4 separate regions of the Homo sapiens genome follow, and all the other regions are linked to region 2. Evidence: promoter capture Hi-C in 16 types of primary human blood cells and fetal thymus (Javierre and others, 2016). All regions are on one chromosome and are shown on one strand. The core of a region is centred on a gene start or on the middle of the fragment in contact, and the rest is flanking DNA. Distances in the headings are between cores, read along the strand shown. Region 1 overlaps LINC01512 (long intergenic non-protein coding RNA 1512). Region 2 holds the start of SLC29A1 (solute carrier family 29 member 1 (Augustine blood group)). Region 3 overlaps LOC105375070 (a long non-coding RNA gene). Region 4 has its middle 36 kb from the start of MRPS18A.

Region 1 (2,700 bases), core at 83-2,582, 320 kb before region 2:
GGTTCACCCTTTCCACCTACCCCATTACTTACCCAGAGAAGGCCAAGGGCCCCTGGCTAGCATCTGGAGGGAGACTTTCTGGGTGTGGACAGATACCAGAGTGGGATGAGTGTTCTGCAGGACCTGGAGCCCCTTGCCAGCCCCTCACTCCATGTGAGTCTTGCAGGTCAGACCCAGATTGGGTGCCCTAGGATCAGTGAAGTGTGACCTATGGTACTAGCCAGGCTATTCTTTCCTGGGGTGGGGAAGCAGCCTGGTCTGATCCTATCAACAGAGAAGGAGTAGGAAAGGGGCTGTTCGAGTCTGGATAAGTCCCCCTCCCAAAGTGGCAGCTTTGGTTCTAAGACAGTTCACTAAAAGGTACACTCCATGAGGGCAGGAATTCTGGTCCACTTTGTACACTGCTTCATTTCCAGAGCCTAAGATCATGCCTGGCATATGGTAGTTGTTCAATAAAAAAATTACTGAATTAATTAGAGTCCTTTTCAACCCCCATTCAGAACTCACTTCCTACCAAAAAATCTCCTTGATAAAGCTTTTCTACTTCAGTGACTACTCAAAAGCAGTACATATAAAATTCATTTGCAAATATAATCAATTGAATCCCAACAGCTGTCTATTTTGAAGGGAAAAAAATGACAAATTTAGATTATTATTGTTGTGTAGCAGGCCCTATGCTAGTTTCTTAACAGACATTATATGACTTAATTCTTGAAGGAAGGCCCTATTTCACAAACAAGGAAATGAAGGTGTCCGGTGTGGTGGCTCACACCTGTAATCCCAGCACTTTGGGAGGCCGAGGCAGGGGGATCGTTTGGGCCCAGAAGTTTGAGACCAGTGTGGGCAACATAGTGAGACCTTGTCTCTACAAAAAATAAAATTAAAATAATTAGCTGGGCACAGTGCCGCATGCCTGTAGTCCCAGCTACTTGGGAGGCTGAGACGGGAGAATCACTTGAGCCCAGAAGGTCCAGGCTGCAGTGAGCTCTCTGATCATGCCACTGCATTCCAGCCTGGATGACAGAGCAAGACCCTGTCTCAAAAGGGAAAGAAAAAAAGCAACTAAGGCTCTAAGGAGGGAAAATTACATAGTGCCCCTGAAGTTGTACCTCTAGGAAATTGCAGAGCTGGGATTTGAACTCACTTCTTACTCAACCCCTCTCCCAACTCTTTTCCTGAATTTCATGGAATTATTTTTTTTCCAACTAGGTTTTGTGATTCAGAAGGTAATTCTACAAAGAGTTCTTTAGCTCCTGTGTGCCCAAGACCAGACAGCATGCACGGGAAGCCCAAGTCCCTATCAGTCAGGAGCCACCAGGCTCCTGCGAACAAACAGGGAGCCTGGGCCTGATTGAAGGCAGAGCACTGGGCCTGATTGAAGCACTCATGGCAGTGGCCCCGGTCAGCCTGGGGCTGCGGTTTCCTGGCAACACTGGCCCTGCCAGCCCTTGACTTAGTGACATCTGCCATCCAGACCAACAGTAGATTATCCTACAAACAGGTACACCTCAGGCTTGTCAGTTCTACCCGGAAAGTTACCTCTCAGCATTCTGAGTGTATGGCTATGCACAGTCTCCCAGAGCTGGGAAGTGCCTGGAAGGCATCTCATCTGGCCCGCCACATCTCTTGTGCAGAATCCCTGACAGAGTGTCCTCTGGTGTCACTTACAGACTTTGGGGATGGGGGCTCGCTGCCCAGAAGGACATCTCCTTCTTTCTTGTTCTTCTACAGATTCTTCCTCCACCTCAGCTGAAAGGATTCATCTTGCAGCACGGCCCACCTTGGAACCCTTTGTGTTTGCTGAAACTTTCTTTGTGATTATTCTTATGTCACTGCATAGCATGTAAATGTATCACACCCCCCCCCCACCCATTATTATTATCTCCTAGTATGCACCAGGCACTGGCCATAAATTATTTCTAATCATCATTAAAACTCTACCACGGTTATCCTCCCTCTATGGATAGGAAAACTAAGGCTTGGAGGTTGAAGAGGTCATGGATCTTGTCCAAGGTCACTAAACTCATAAATGTCACAGTCAAAATTTGAATCTAGATAGAGTTGTCAGCTCCAAAGAAGTTTGCTCAGTCAGTTCTTCCCCAAATTAGCTTTTTATCCAAATTTGCTGAGAAGCTTTTTAAAAATACATCTTCTTTACAACAAAGCCAGAGAAAGAATAAGGCAGCTCTCTGCACAACAATATGGTGCTCGTATATGCCTAGAACATCTCCAGGAAGAAGGTGAGTCACTGGCCACCGCTGGCCTCAGGGGATGGTCTACGGGAGGGGACACAGGAGTGGGAGGGAGACTTGCTTTTTACTATATTCTCCAGTACTTATTGGATTCCTTCCTTTCCTTCCTTCCTTCCTTCCTTCCTTCCTTCCTTCCTTCCTTCCTCCCTCCCTCTCTTTCTTTCTTTCCGTCTCTTTCTCTTTCTTTCTTTCTTTTTCTTTCTTCCTTTTTCTTTCTTCTTTCTTTCTTTCTCTTCTTTCTCTTCTTTCTTTCTTTTCTTTCTTTCTCTTCTTTCTTTCTTTCTTTTCTTTCTTTCTTTCTTTCTTTCTTTCTTTCTTTCTTTCTTTCTTTCTTTCTTTCTTTCTTTTTCCTTCCTTCCTTTTTTCCTCCCCTCCTTCCCTTCCTCCTTCCTTCTTTCTCTCTCTTCCTTCCTTCTCTCTCTCTTTCTTTTCACCTTTTCAAAATTAT
Region 2 (2,700 bases), core at 201-2,700:
ATTAGGGGGTTGTGGACAGACATGAAGCCACTCTCAAGTCATGGGGCTGTGCCTGGAAAAATACCACCTAAACCCATCTTCCTGCCCTCTGGTTAGGGCTGGCGGGGATGTGGGGGATGGGGGTGGGGTGGGGGAGGGTTGGGAAGGAATATGTGTGTCATCTCTGTGGGGCATGGAAACAGAAGGCTGGGGACACCCATTCTGGAGTAGCTTGGGGAGAGCCACTGACCCTAATTAGAAAAGCCACCTCTCTCCTTAGGGCCCTGTCTGTTTCTCTGGGGACAGGGTAGGACTACCTTATCCCTATGATGTGAGGTACTGCCAGTTGTTAATCAGTGTCTGTGGCTTCTCTAGGGGACAAGCCCTTCGGGTCAGTGGGCATGGGGTGGGCAGCGTGGGTTGGATTTTCTCCTCAGGACCTTTCCAGCCTTAGGATCATCCTCTAGCACTGAGTACTGCTGGAAGGGCAGGGAGTGCCCCCCACCCCACCCCATTTATTGCCCGACCAAAGAGAGGGCCTCCCTCCCCCTCCCTTGGAGGGACTTGCTGGACCACCCCTCAGCACGCCCACACCTTCCTCCTTAGCTAGTGAAAGACATACTCAGCAAGGCTTCCGCCTGTCAGGATGGCTGGGACAATAGGATTCACTGAGGATATAAGGCTGTTCCTAGCTTTTTCTCTTCCCATTCCCACCTGTGCCTCAGTTTTCCAAAGTGCTGGATTTAGAAAGGGTGAATTATGAGGGAGCTGGAGGGCTTTGCCCCACCCCCCTCCGCGCGCACACGCAAGCACAGGCAGAGGCACATACCCCCTCCAAGTCAAAGTTGTGAGTGGGGTGGTGTTTGCGCGTCTGTGGCTGGGACTGGATGTGTCAGGGATGGGAAAACCCATCATGCTGGTCACAGAAAATGCGCGGTGGGGACAGAAGCAGTTTTGAAGGAAAAGAAGAGGAGGGGGACTGAAAGAAAGAAGGGGGCGCTGAAAGGGAGGGCGCTGGGAGGAAAAAGGTGCAGTGTGGAGGAAGCGCGGCGTGGGCAGGGCTTGGGAAGGGATAACGGAATATCTGAGGTGGAGTGGGCCGTGGAGCGTCGGGGCCGGTCTGAGCAGCGGGTGTGTAAATGGAACAGTCCCGAGATGAATTTTATGGGAGTCTGCGCAGGTCCTTAATGTGTGGCTGTACCCTCCAGCCCCATGTACCCCACACGATGGACAGACAGCCTTGGTGTGGCAGGGCCCAAAGAGGTCCTATCTACCGCAATAACACGACCAGGCGGCCCTGGGGGCGCAGGGGCTCGGGGTGGGAGCGGCGGAGCGCGCGGAGTCGCCGCGGGGTGGCAGGGGTGGGCCGGGGGCGGGGCCGCGGGCGTCGGGGAGGTGGCAGTGGGCGCAGGGCGGGGCGAGCTCAGCGGAGGGCGGGTTTGAATGTGCCCCGGCGGGAGAGGGAAGCTGCAGCGAGAGCGCGCGGATCTCAGCGCGGGAGCAGTGCTTCTGCGGCAGGTGCTGCCCGGGGCCGGGGACTGGGGACTGGGGACTGCCGGGGCGGAAGACGCCGCTGCCCGCCTGCCACGGAGGGCAGGGAGGGCGGGCCTGACGGCTCCGCAGCCCGGAGAAGGGACGCCGGGTGGGGCCCCAGTGCGGAGCGTGCGGAGCCGCGCAGCACGTGGCGCGCACGGGCCAGGGAGCCTGAGGACCCTGCGGGGACCGGGACCCAAGCTGGGCGGGGCGGCCTGGCTCCCGGGCCTAAAACAGGCTGCGGTCACGTTGACCTCCGCAAGGGGCAGGCGAGTGGACGGGTGATCCCCATCGATCTGGTCGGTATCAGGGAGGGGCCGTGCCGCTGACTGCGCTGGCGGAGGGGTATGGGGATGGGGATGGGGATGGAGGCTCGCGAGCGGAGGTGCAGGCTCGCGAGCGGAGGTGCGGGGCTGTCTCTTTAACCCCGGTCTTTTACTGGCTAAACTCGTATCCCTGGCGTCTCCTTCCTGCGCACGTCTTCATTTACTGATTTACTGTGAGGGTATATGAGAGGGTGAAGACAAACAGTCCTCGGCTTTGCTTACCAGGAGAGAGCAGTCGTAGGTCAAGGCTGGCTCCAACCCTGCCCTCACACCTCTAGGGGTCTCTCTGCAGCCCTGTGGTAGTCCCTTTGCCTACTCCTCTCGGTGGCCTCCAGACCCTCCAACTTTCCTCCTGCTTGTGTAAGCTCCCCATGCCAGGATGTGTGTGATGGGGCGGGGCTGAGCTGCCTGACACTCAAGTCAGGCTGGGAATGATCTTGGTCTCCACCTCATTTTTCCCTTTAGTTGAATCAGAGTTCCCCCCACCTCCCAGTCTACAGGGCTAACTGAGAAGCAGCTTTTATACCTCTCTCCATTCCAAAAGGAGCTTGAACATTTAATATGGATTCTAGCTCCTCCACTCACCAGCTCTGTGACTTCAGGCAAGTGACTCAACCCCTCTGAACCTCAGCTGGCCCCATCTATTCAGTGCTAGTACTAGCTTATGGGTGGTTGTGAAGAAAAGACAAGAGATCTGCAGGTAGTGGCTAGCCCCATATGAAATCCTGGGAGTGGAGAATTGCAGGAGAGGTGTTGGGAGTCTGGAGGCAGGGAGGTACTCAATTTGGTGGCTACTTTCAGGGGCCCACCTCAGCAGGCCAAGGCATAGTTGGAGGGACACCAGATGCTCTGAGCTGGTATC
Region 3 (2,700 bases), core at 132-2,631, 410 kb before region 2:
CTTAAACCCAGGAGTTCAAGTCCAGCCTGGGCAACATAGTGCAACCCTGTCTCTAAAAAAAAAAAATTTAAAAATTAAAAAAAATTTAAAGTGGACCTGTTCTGTTATTTGTAATCGAGAGGGAAGGGAAGTCATCAGTTTAATTCCTTCGAACCATAATTTATTGAGTCATTGTGTTAGGCTCTGGGAATACTAAGAAAAATAAGACACCATTCCTGCCCTCAAGGAGTCTAGTCATGGAGGCAGATACCAAGATTGTTTTTATGACAGCCCACATCAGTTGGGAATATATTTGGTATCAAGCAACAGAATACCCAACAGACAGTGGCTTGAGCAATAAAGACATTGATCAATATCACATCACTGGAAGTCTGGAGGCAGAGGGTTCCAGCTTTGGTGAAAGGATGACATCAATGATGCTATCAAAACTCAGCCTTTTTCTATCCTTCTGCTCTGCCATCTTCAACGTGTTAATTTTTGTCTCCATGCTTGTTGCCTCCTGGTCACAAGATGGCTGCTATGGTGACTCCTATAATTATATTCAAGGCAGAAAAGAAAAAAGCCAAGGAGAGAAAGGGGCTCTATTTTTATCAGGGAAGAAACGTGTTTCCCAGATACCCCCTCTGAAAATGACCTCTCATGTATCATTGGGCACAACTGAGAGGAAATGCTTCAGGGAGGCTGGGAAACTGAGGGACTAGCAAATAGGAACAGGATGCTGGTGATGTCTTAGATGAAGCTTGACTCATCTTCTGGGCCTAGATACATTGTCACCCGAAAAGGTGAGGTTCTGGTGGCAAGGAAGAAAGGGTGGAGCAGAATCACTGTTAGGTAGGATGAGCAGTGCCTGCCTTGTGTGGTAAGAGCTAGGATAGGCTCAGGATGCAAAGAGAAACCAGAGGAGCAGAGTTGGCCTAACTTGGGGGCTCAGGGAAGGGTTCCTGGAAAAGGTGGCTCCTGAGTGAGTTTTAGAGCAGCTGTATCAAGAACAGTTGCAACGTCATCCTAGGTAGATTGACAGCAGGAGCAGAAGCAGAAATAGACATGTGAAATAACCTAGTATGTCCAGGAAAGTGAGCACAATTAGATATTTAGTTAAGTGATGGGGAGAGAGAGAGACAGAGAGAGAGAGAGAGGAGGTGCAGGTGGAGAGGGGAAGAAACCAGGCCACGGTGGGCTTTGAAAGTCATGCTGTCAACCTTGTCTAACCAATTTATCCTGGCTTCTGCCAGTGCAGGGGCAGGGCTGGCTGTGCAATTTAGAAATATTACTCAATGCTGGTACAGAGATTGGGTGGGTGGGAGAGGCCGTGAGAAGCTCAGAGTGCAGCAGGGAGACCAGCAAGGAGGTTCTTGCAGCCATCCAGATGAGAGCTGTGGAGGGCCTGGAACAGACTTGGGCCTGGAACAGACTTTCCAAAGTCAGACTGCCAATATTTCAGCAAAAAGACAGGCAGGGTTCCATGCCACGAATCTCTGGGTGGGATAGCTGTCTCAAGAGGGCTGGGAAGCTCTCAAAAATGTACATGACACTGTGCAATCCCACACAGGGTAGTCTGCGTCCCAGTAATGAAGGAAGAAGGGAGGTGACCACAGAAATCAGTGTGTGGCAGGAGAGCTCTTTGCCAAATTGCTGTGTTAAGGAGGCTTGAACAGAGAAGGGAAGGACAGATGTGAGACAGGACTACGGGCCTGTAAAGAGAGTTTCTGGAAGATAAAAATAGGTAGAGGTTTGTGAAAGATGCTAGGGGCAACCCAGGCTTGTTTAGCTGTGATCATAGCCAGTCAAGATCAAGGGATCCAGAGGCTGCAGTTGGGCCTGATGACACAGCACGGGTGGGGAGTGTACGAAGAGTAGGGCTCCTTGCTGCCCCCTGGCAGGAGAGCAGCCTGCAAACCCAGAGGGCAGCAGTAGATGACACAGAGGCCCAGGGAGCCCTGGAGGTGGGATGGGCCCTCCCCTCTCCACTGCTGCTGGGGTGTTCAAAGGGCCTCTCCCCATAAAACAACACTTGGGGCACAAAGGAAGCTTGTGAACCAGACTGCTGGGGCCACTTTGTCCCACCTGAGAAAGCCAAGAGCACGGGGGCCTTGAGAAGGGAAAAACGTGGTTCTGAGTTTTAAAAAGAGTCCTGGGCAAGGATCCTTGTGGATTATGGAAGGAGTAGTTAGTGAGCATTAGAAAAGTGGGAAGCTTCTGGATAGCTGGAAACATGGCCGTTCCTGGAGGGCGGTGCGCCCAGGGAGGGCATGGAAGCTCCACGTCCTTCCTGCATACCTTGTCTTACGCATCTGTTCATTGTATCCTTGGTACCCCATGTCTGAAGGACATAAAATGATCTTGACACCTGAAACATCCATGCTGTCCCGGGTGATGTCAGAAAAACACTCTAATGAGGACAGCAGTGCCCAGGAGGGTTCCATAATAAAATGGAAATGGCTTATACAGAATCATGCAACCTGAGGAATGTAAGGAGGAGATATGAGCAGGGAGCCTCATTACACCCTAGGACTGACTGTGGAACTGTGTGAGGAGCTGTGGATCCTACAGTGCTCTCAACTGACCAGCAAATAGCTGCTTGGTTTGTGGATGGCAGTTCCAAGGTAAATGGACAACCTCCTGTTTGGAAGGCTGCTACTATGATCCAAGAAGGTAAAAACTAATCAGCTTGGTGGGCTGAATCACATGCTGCTTTCCTAA
Region 4 (2,700 bases), core at 82-2,581, 500 kb before region 2:
CCTCCATGGAGCAGCCGAGGGGCGGCCATCTGACCTAAACTCAGCTGGTCAGACTCTTGGGTCTGGGCATCTTGAGCATCCTGACACTAGGATGGAAGGGGCCTTTGGAGTTCAGCCAAGTCACTTCTGTCTGGTTTCCAAGTTAGGTACTCCAGACTCCCAGTCGATTCTCTGACCTAGCTCCTTAATATTTTTCCAGTTAATTCTTTTGTTTTTTATTTTTTCTTATAAGTGCCAGAGGTGGTTTCTGTTACTCGCAAACAGAGAGGAGCCAGTGAAGGAAAATAAGATGGACAGGACTTCAGAGGGGCAGGAAGAGAGCCGAAAACCGGGAGCTAGGCTTTACAAAAATAAGCGAAAGAGTATATCTTGAAGAAAGGAGTAGCCAGTGGCGTCAATTTTTATTTAGAAAGTGTCCAGTATGTCTGTGTAAGCATGGGAGAAAAAGGCAAGAAGGAAACACAGCTGTTAACAATGAGGAATAATGGGGGGAGGCTTCGATAGATCTTTGTTTCAAAGGACAGGAACCCAACTCATACTTGCTTAAGACAAAAACAACAACAAAAAAGTAATTTATTGGCTTATATCACTGAAGAGTCCAGGGGTGAGTCTGTCTTTGGCACAGCCCGGACAATGTCTGCAGGGCTTGGTCTCTGCTCTCCTCTGTGTGGGCTTCCTTCTCGCGCATGTTCTCCTTAGGCAGTACTCCTGGAAACTCTTGGAATATACGTACCCATTTAGTAACTTCGGAGAGAGCAGAAAGCCATTCTTCTTCCCAGTGGCTCCAGTAAAATTCCAGGATTGACTCTGATGGGCCTGGTTTGGTCATATGTCCTTCCTGAACCAATCACTATGGATAGGACTTTTTTTTTTTTTTTTTTTTTTTTCTGTGCTTGAGTGGTCTGAATCTTCCCACGGAGACAGGGAGATGGAGTCATTTCCATCCAAGCCACTTTTACTGAGAGTGTAGGGACTGCCCAGAGGAAATCAAGAGGCTATTTATCAGAAGAAAGAATGGGTTCCGGGGGATGAAAACCCAATCTGTGTTCCCGTTGACTAGGGGGAAGGGTATAATGACTGGCTAGGTCTGCTCACAAGGCCATGCTTGGAGGACATGAGGCAAGTCCACTTGAGTCATCTTCCCCAAAACCACGGGCACTGGGCAGAAAAAACTACACTTGAACACTGTAGGTGGATTGAGGGGTGGGCAGAAGCAAGAAGAGCAAAATAGCACGGGGAAGGAACGGGTGGGCTCAAATCCAGAAATCCAGATTTGAATCTGAGTTTTGCCATTTGGTAATTTTTAAACTTCTGAGCCTCAGTTTCTCATTGGAAAACTGGATCAATGCAGGAACAGTGCCTGTAGAATTCTTATGAGAATTAAATGGAATACTCGACATAAAGGATTCAGCTCTGTTCCTGAAAAAGCCAATGAATGTTTGCTGTTATGATAGTGGTCTTGAACTTCCATGCGGGTGACTGTGCCCTTGATAAGGGGTCAGGCTGTCCTCGGAGCCCTCTTCCTCATGCCATCAGGGCCTCCCCAGCACAGGCCTCAGAACTCACTAACATGTTGCTCAGTCAAAGCCTGGCCAGATTCCAACCCCAGGCATGAAGGAAAGCATAAAGGATCTGGTGTTTGGGTGTGGTCACGGTGGGTCCTGATGGGGCTGCGTCAAGGCTAATGAGGAAGAGGCTGGAGGGCCAGGGATTGGCAAGGAGGAAGGTGAGGAGTAAGGGGAGGGGTGATTTTGGCTAGAGCCAGCAGGGGTCACTGCAGATCTAAGTAACTTCAGGGAAGCGGCAGGGCCACCCATGGGCCCTCCCACATTACTACCTGCCTTCGTAACTGGGATACAGGTCTTGGACCAGTTCTGGGGAGAAGGATTGGGATTGGACTCACGCAGTGGGAGGTAGCTGCCTAGGGCATCTGCCCTTGGTGTCCTCCGGGGCCTAGGCTGTCTCTCCTCCATGGAGGCTCTTCACCAATGGGGTGTGGGCCTGGCGTGCCACCGGACTCTGAGTTCCAGCAGTGCCTAGTAAGTGCATCTTGAGATGCTCCCCTATAAAGAGCTCTGAGATTAAATGCGTTTCCTTGTCTCGTCCCTCGTCTCTGAGGGTTGTAGCCCAGATTAGCATGTTAGAGGCTCAGAGAAGTCCTGCAGTCAAGAAAACCTGTTAGACTGTGTTTAACTCAGGTTTCCTGTGCTTATTTGAGCCCGTTTGCCACAACATAGTTAGGGAAATGCTGGCTTAAGGGTGGGAAAGGGGGTGTGCTTGATACATTAACCTTCCCCAAGAGCATTTGCCCTCCCAACACACTCCCTCCTCCACCCATTGCAAGTAGTGTGTGACACATGTCTGTTGTAGAAAAGTGGGGGAAAAAACTACAAAGAAGAAAGTTACCCATCCCCTGCCTCCAGAAGAAAGTTACCCATCCCCTGCCTCCTGCTCCTTAGTCTCTTCTCAAAAGAGCTCTGGCCACTGTCCTCGGTCTTCCTGGAGAAAGGGTGATGATGGAGCTCCCCTCAAGGCACACCCACTTCTACTGGGGAGAAGCCCCAAGAGGAAAGGGCCCTTTTAGAGGTCATCTTATCCACCCCTCCGTCTCCTCTCTGTGCAGATTCTTGCTTCCCTCTCTTGCTGACATTCCTACAGGAAGGGAGATGGTGGTGGTGGTTTGGAGGGTGTTGAGGGGCG

Evidence for each region. Contacts are between HindIII fragments. The CHiCAGO score rates a contact against its expected background, and 5 or more counts as called.
Region 1: a contact is called between a fragment that was not itself captured here and the fragment with the promoter of SLC29A1 in region 2, in 1 of 17 cell types (monocytes). The highest score is 5.6, in monocytes.
Region 3: a fragment that was not itself captured here is called in contact with the fragment with the promoter of SLC29A1 in region 2 in 1 of 17 cell types (monocytes); the score reaches 5.7 in monocytes.
Region 4: a fragment that was not itself captured here is called in contact with the fragment with the promoter of SLC29A1 in region 2 in 1 of 17 cell types (neutrophils); the score reaches 7.6 in neutrophils.

The regions. Positions count from the first base shown.
Region 1 is chr6:43,902,567-43,905,266 of GRCh38, forward strand. The region is part of intron 1 of LINC01512 (long intergenic non-protein coding RNA 1512); the gene reads left to right. It overlaps LOC105375070 (a long non-coding RNA gene), which reads left to right. Exons shown (of 3, transcript XR_007059588.1): 3 at 1,732-1,949. Among named protein-coding and RNA genes, the nearest start is that of LINC01512, 13 kb to the left of the region's middle. The HindIII fragment of the contact is 1,598 bases long and covers 534-2,131 here.
Region 2 is chr6:44,222,145-44,224,844 of GRCh38, forward strand. It overlaps SLC29A1 (solute carrier family 29 member 1 (Augustine blood group)), which reads left to right and starts at 1,451. Exons shown (of 13, transcript NM_001372327.1): 1 at 1,451-1,497. RefSeq lists enhancers at 1,280-2,138, 2,381-2,530 and a silencer at 1,291-1,690. The HindIII fragment of the contact is 15,932 bases long and covers 1-2,700 here.
Region 3 is chr6:43,815,508-43,818,207 of GRCh38, forward strand. All of the region lies in intron 1 of LOC105375070 (a long non-coding RNA gene), which reads left to right. Among named protein-coding and RNA genes, the nearest start is that of LINC02537, 35 kb to the right of the region's middle. RefSeq lists enhancers at 1,597-1,646, 1,767-1,826. The HindIII fragment of the contact is 1,289 bases long and covers 738-2,026 here.
Region 4 is chr6:43,722,243-43,724,942 of GRCh38, forward strand. No RefSeq gene overlaps it. Among named protein-coding and RNA genes, the nearest start is that of MRPS18A, 36 kb to the left of the region's middle. RefSeq lists an enhancer at 2,699-2,700. The HindIII fragment of the contact is 7,123 bases long and covers 1-2,700 here.